Linked DNA regions of Homo sapiens: region 2 is linked to region 1. The links are contacts of gene promoters, found by promoter capture Hi-C in human tissues and cell types (Jung and others, 2019). All regions are on one chromosome and are shown on one strand. The core of a region is centred on a gene start or on the middle of the fragment in contact, and the rest is flanking DNA. Distances in the headings are between cores, read along the strand shown. Region 1 holds the start of ZNF839 (zinc finger protein 839). Region 2 has its middle 20 kb from the start of SNORA28.

Region 1 (2,700 bases), core at 91-2,590:
GCGGATCACCTAAGGTCAGGGTTTCAAGACCAGCCTTACCAACATGATGAAACCCCGTCTCTACTAAAAATACAAAAATTAGCCAGGCATGGTGGCGGACGCCTGTAATCCCAGCTACTCAAGAGGCTGAGGCAGGAGAACCGCATGAACCCAGGCGATGGAGGTTGCGGTGAGCTGAGATTGTGCCACTGCACTCCAGCCTGGGTGACAGAGTGAGATCTTGTCTCAAAAAAAAAAAAAAATTGTGGTAAGATACCCATAATATAAAATTCACCATTAAAAAATAACACGGAAGGGATCATCGTGAATGCAATGTGAGTATTGATGAGGATGGTGGTGATCTTCCAGAACCTTCTCTGACGCCACCCAGGCCGCCAGCCTTACTTTACCGGCTTCGGCGCTCATCATACTGTGCTGCAAATGCCAGTTTCCTCCTTCCCCCTTGGGAAGTTTCCTCCTTGGGGGTCGGCACCTAGACTGTATACCCCCCAGGGCGGAAACAGCGGTTCACCCACCAGGTGCTTAAGAAGGGTTTGTGGACCAGTGGACCTCCTGCTCTCCCTGGGGAAAGGAGCTGGGACATGTGTACACACCTGCAGCTACAAGATTCGGAGGGCGCACAGAGCCTCAACCGTAAGAAGGAGAGGCGATCAGGCTGAGGAAGATGGGGCAGTGGAGCTGGATGGATAGAGAGAGGGTGGGTTCATTCATTCGTTCACTCATTCGTTTATTCATATTCATCCATCCATCATTCATGCCCTGAGCGTGCGTTGTGTTCTGGGCAGGGCCTGTGCTGGGCACCGATTGTGTAATATATCATCTCTCCCTTCAAGGTGCACCCAATCTGGGTGGGTGGGTAGAGAGAAGCTACGGTGACAAGGCAAAAATTTGGGAAACACTCTCGTTAACAATTCAAACTGTGGTCCCCTCCCAGATGTATAAATCCAAATGTTTAGGGGTGGGCACAGTACTCTGCATCTCCAGACAGCATCCTCCGCTGATTCGGATGCATGATGACGTCAGAACACTTGGATATTGTGGTAACTTTTGGGCCAGGGGCTCTGAAACCCCGAAGACCTCCCCCTGGGAGATCCGGGACAGCTCCCAGAGAAGGTGAGTCTTAAACACATCCGTGACAGGCAATAAGGAAAATAAGGGGGGTCCGCTCTGCTGATCAGCCCTAAGAGCCGCGGCGGTTGTCGGCTGGGGCGGGGCACTCCACGACTTTCCCGGCCAGACACGGTCGCCTTCCTAGGTGTCTTGGCCTGCGAGGCACTCGTAGCCCGCCCCTCTCCTAGGTGACGTACATTGGAGACGCCGTCGCTCAGCGACCCGGGTTCGAGTCCCCGCCTCGGCCGCCATGGCGGATGCGGAGCCGGAGGCTGGGGGCGGCAGCGAGGATGGCGGCGGCGGCGGCGGCCCGGCTCCTCCGGGCCAGAGCGGCAGCGTCGCACGTGTGGCCCCGCTGGGCCCCGAGCAGCTGCGGCAGGTCCTGGAGCAGGTGACGAAGGCGCAGCCGCCGCCGCCGCCGCCCCCCTTCGTGCTGCGGGACGCGGCGCGGCGGCTGCGGGACGCGGCCCAACAGGCCGCCCTGCAGCGGGGCCGGGGCACCGAGCCCCCGCGCCTGCCGCGCCTGCTCCCGCCCCAGGTGAGGCGTCGGGAGGGACGTGGGGAAACTGAGGCCCGAAGGGGGCCGACGCCCCGCGGCGGGGTAGCTGCTTGTCCGGGGAGGCCAGTATCCGCCCGGGTTAAGACTCAGGGCGTCCCCAGGCTGAGCTTCTTAGGGACGGCGTTCGGCCCCCACCTGTCACCACCCTGGCATTTTCACCCCAGGAGCCTCACTCTAGGAGCGGTTGCTCACGCTGGGCCCTGTGCCTGGAACGCCCTCGTGCCTTCTCTGCCTTCACAGCCCTGCTGGGGGCTTTTGCGTGCTCCCTAGCTCTTCTTACAGGCCTTTCACCGCTGGTTCAGCCTTTGTGGAGCACTTAGAGACCGTGTTCCCAGCACTCCCCACTATGTGCAGGAGGTGAAGCCTTGAACACACTTGCTGAAGAACGAACATAAGGCAGGTTCTGGGATTGACGGGGGCTGCTTTAGAGTGGGTGGTCCCGTAGGCCAGACACTGGAGCTGAAACATAAATGAATTAAAAGGAACCAACTTAGCTTTTCAGTTGTAAGGTGCCAAGGCCCAGGCTTGGAACAAAGTCAAGCACAATACACTAGTTCGCTGCAGGACTTAACATCCTGGGTGATAGTGACTGATTTGTAACCGCAGTACCCAGCACAGTGCCTGATACACAATGTTTGGAATATGTGAAAGCACTCTGTATACTACAAAACATCCTTTCCCAGTGGGTTTATTTCCTGGGCCACACACCTTTTGGTTGCTAGGGGGGTGATAACTAGAAGACGGTCGCCCAACTCCGGAGGGTGAAGCATAGCGCCTGAAGCCAGAGGGCCTACACGGCATCTGTAAAATTCCACCCCATTTCAGCGCTGGGGTTGTAAACAAAATTAGTCTCACCCCAAAATTGCCAAAAGAAGACAGCTTTTTCCACTAGAAGAAACGGGTTAGGGAATAGAATCAGGAACCTTCACTCGTTGAGTTTTTTTGACTGATGTTAGCTGCTTAGGGTTGTATCCAGTTAATCATCAAGACTGGAGAGTTGTCTTGCTAAGGTTTAGGAAGACCAGTGTGAT
Region 2 (2,700 bases), core at 22-2,521, 1.0 Mb after region 1:
ACGTGAGTGTCAGAGAAATCTCCCGCCCAACATCAGAAGAGATAGCCTAGCCAGAGCAGCCCAAACACACCATGAGCAAAATGAAAGTAAACAGCTTGGTAGATATGCAAGCATACACAGGGCCACTACAAGGAAGCAAAAACGTCAGTGTCATGAAGCACCAAAAAATAAATAAATAAATAAAATAAAATTTAAAAGTCTTCTTTAATCTAGAAAGAAGGTTGCTATGGACTAAACAGTATCCTCCCAAAATTTCTATATTGCAGACCAAACTCCCAGTGTGATGGTATTTGGAGATAGAGCCTTTGGGAGGTCATAGGGTTAGATGAGGTCAAAGGGTGGGGCCTTCATGAGGGGATTAGTACTCTTATAATAAGAGACACCGGAAAGCACTTCTGTTTTTCTTTTCTTTTCCTTTTCTTTTCTTTTTTTTTTTTTTTTTGAGACACGATCTTCCTCCATTGCCCAGGCTAGAGTACAGTGGCCCAATCTCAGCTCACTGCAGCCTTGACCTCCCGGGCTCAAGTGATTCTCTCACCTCAGCCTCCCAAGTAGCTGGGACTACAGGCATGTGTCACCATGCCCAGCTAATTTTGTTAATTTATTTATTTTTTGTAGAGACAAGGTCTCATTATGCTCCCCAGGCTGGTCTTGACTCCTGGATTCAAGCAATCCTCCTGCCTCAGCTTCCCAAAGTGCAGGGATTACAGGTATGAGCCACCACACTTAGCACAGAAAGCATTCTTGAGTGTGTTCTCTCTTCTCTCTCTTCTCTTCTCTTCTCTCTCTCTCTCTCTCTCCTGTCTCTCTCTCTTCTCTCTCTTCTCTTCTTTCTCTTCTCTCCCTCTCTCTCTCTCTCTCTCTCTCTCTCTCTCTCTCTCTCTGTCCCCTGTGGGGGTCACAGGAAGAAGACAGCAAGCCAGGAAGAGAGCCCTCACTGGGAGCTGATCATGCTGACACCACGATCTTGGACTTTCCAGCCTCCAGAAGGACAAGAAAATAAATCTCTATTGTGTAAGCCAATCAGTCTATGGTATTTTGTTATGGCAACTAAAGCAGACTAAAGATACATTTCTGCTAAATGCAATGTGTGATCCTCAGTTGGAGTCTGATTTTTTAATTCAACCTGCAAAGGAAAAAACAAACAAGGACAAGTATAAAAACAGATATGGTGAAATTCAATCCAAGGCAGAAAAGCAGGTGTCCCCAGATCCATCTCCCCATAAAAGAGCTCATAACAGTGGCTCACGCCTGTAATCCCAGCATTTTGGGAGGCCGAGGCAGGTGGATCAGTTGAGGTCAGGAGTTCGAGACCAGCCTGGCCAGCACAGTGAAACCCCATCTCTACAAAAATACAAAAATTAGCCGGGCATGGTGGCAGGCACCTGTAATCCCAGCTACTCGGGAGGCTGAGACAGGAGAATTGCTTGAACCTGGGAGGTGGAGGTTGCGGTGAGCCAAGATCGCGCCACTGTGCTCTAGCCTGGGCAACGGAGCAAGACTCCATCTAAAAGAAAAAAAAAAAAAAGAGCTCATAAGACTGTGACGTGGTGAGGCAACAACTCAGAGACAGGGCAGGAGCAGACAGAACCAAGATAATAACACTGCACATCTAATGGATAATGAAACAGCAAGAGGCCAGGCACGGTGGCTCACACCTGGCAGCTCCCACCTTCCAGCACTTTGGGAGGCCAAGGCGTGCCATCTTTTGAGCTCAGGAGTTCGAGGCCAGCCTGGGCAATATAGTGAGACACCGTCTCTAAAAAATATACAAAAATTAGCAGGACATGTCTGTGCATGCCTGTAGTCTCAGCGACTCTGGAGGCTGATGTGGGAGAATCACCTGAGCAAGGATGGGGAGGCTGTGGTGAACCAAGATGGGGGCAGGAGAATTGCTTGAACCTGGGAGGCAGAGGTTGCAGTGAGCCGGGGTCATGCCACTGCACTCCAGCCTGGGCGACAGAGACAGAGTCTGTCTCCAAAAAAAAAAAAAAAAAAAAAAAATACAAGCTTTGGAATTGGCCTGTAGTAACTGAACTTTCTGTTTGAGGTTTTTCTGGTGATTAACCTCTAACTACTATATAACACGGGTACATAGCTATAAGTTGCTGTCACTTTGAGACATTATCCCTTGGGGTCTCAGGTGACACCTGTAGAGGTGACTCACCACCCCATCCCCCCACATCTTCCTCTCAATGTGGTTATTACTATTTTCTATTATTATTTTCATTTTTTTTTAAACCGAGTCTCACTCTGTTGCCTAGGCTGGAGTGCAGTGGTGTGATCCCAGCTCACTGCAACCTCCGCCTCCCAGGTTCAAGCGATTCTCCTGCATCAGCCTCCCTAGTAGCTGGAATTACAGGCATGTACAACCGCTCCCAGCTAATTTTCGTTGTTGTTGTTGTATTTTTAGTAGAGATGGGGTTTCACCATGTTGGCCAGGCTAGTCTCCAACTCCTGACCTCAAGTGATCCGCCTACCTTAGCCTCCCAATGTGTTGGGATTTCAGGTGTGGCTCACACCACGCCTGGCCATTATTATTATTTTCAATCCCTCTATTGGTTCCTTCCATAAGCTTAAACATAATATTTGCGATTTTATTACTGGTTCTTCTATCCATAGAGGCTTCTCTTGATTCCCAACAAGGGAAGATGAAGATATTTGTTTCTCTAACCTTGGCTTTATAACCTCCACCTTCCA

The links. Contacts are between HindIII fragments. The study calls those that stand out against the background at their distance.
Region 2: a fragment that was not itself captured here is called in contact with the fragment with the promoter of ZNF839 in region 1 in 1 of the 25 tissues and cell types used here (adrenal gland).

Annotation. Positions count from the first base shown.
Region 1 is chr14:102,318,406-102,321,105 of GRCh38, forward strand. It overlaps ZNF839 (zinc finger protein 839), which reads left to right and starts at 1,341. Exons shown (of 8, transcript NM_018335.6): 1 at 1,341-1,648. The coding sequence starts at 1,361. RefSeq lists silencers at 1,401-1,500, 1,561-1,750 and an enhancer at 1,851-1,960. The HindIII fragment of the contact is 9,233 bases long and covers 1-2,700 here.
Region 2 is chr14:103,356,297-103,358,996 of GRCh38, forward strand. No RefSeq gene overlaps it. Among named protein-coding and RNA genes, the nearest start is that of SNORA28, 20 kb to the left of the region's middle. The HindIII fragment of the contact is 3,148 bases long and covers 1-2,700 here.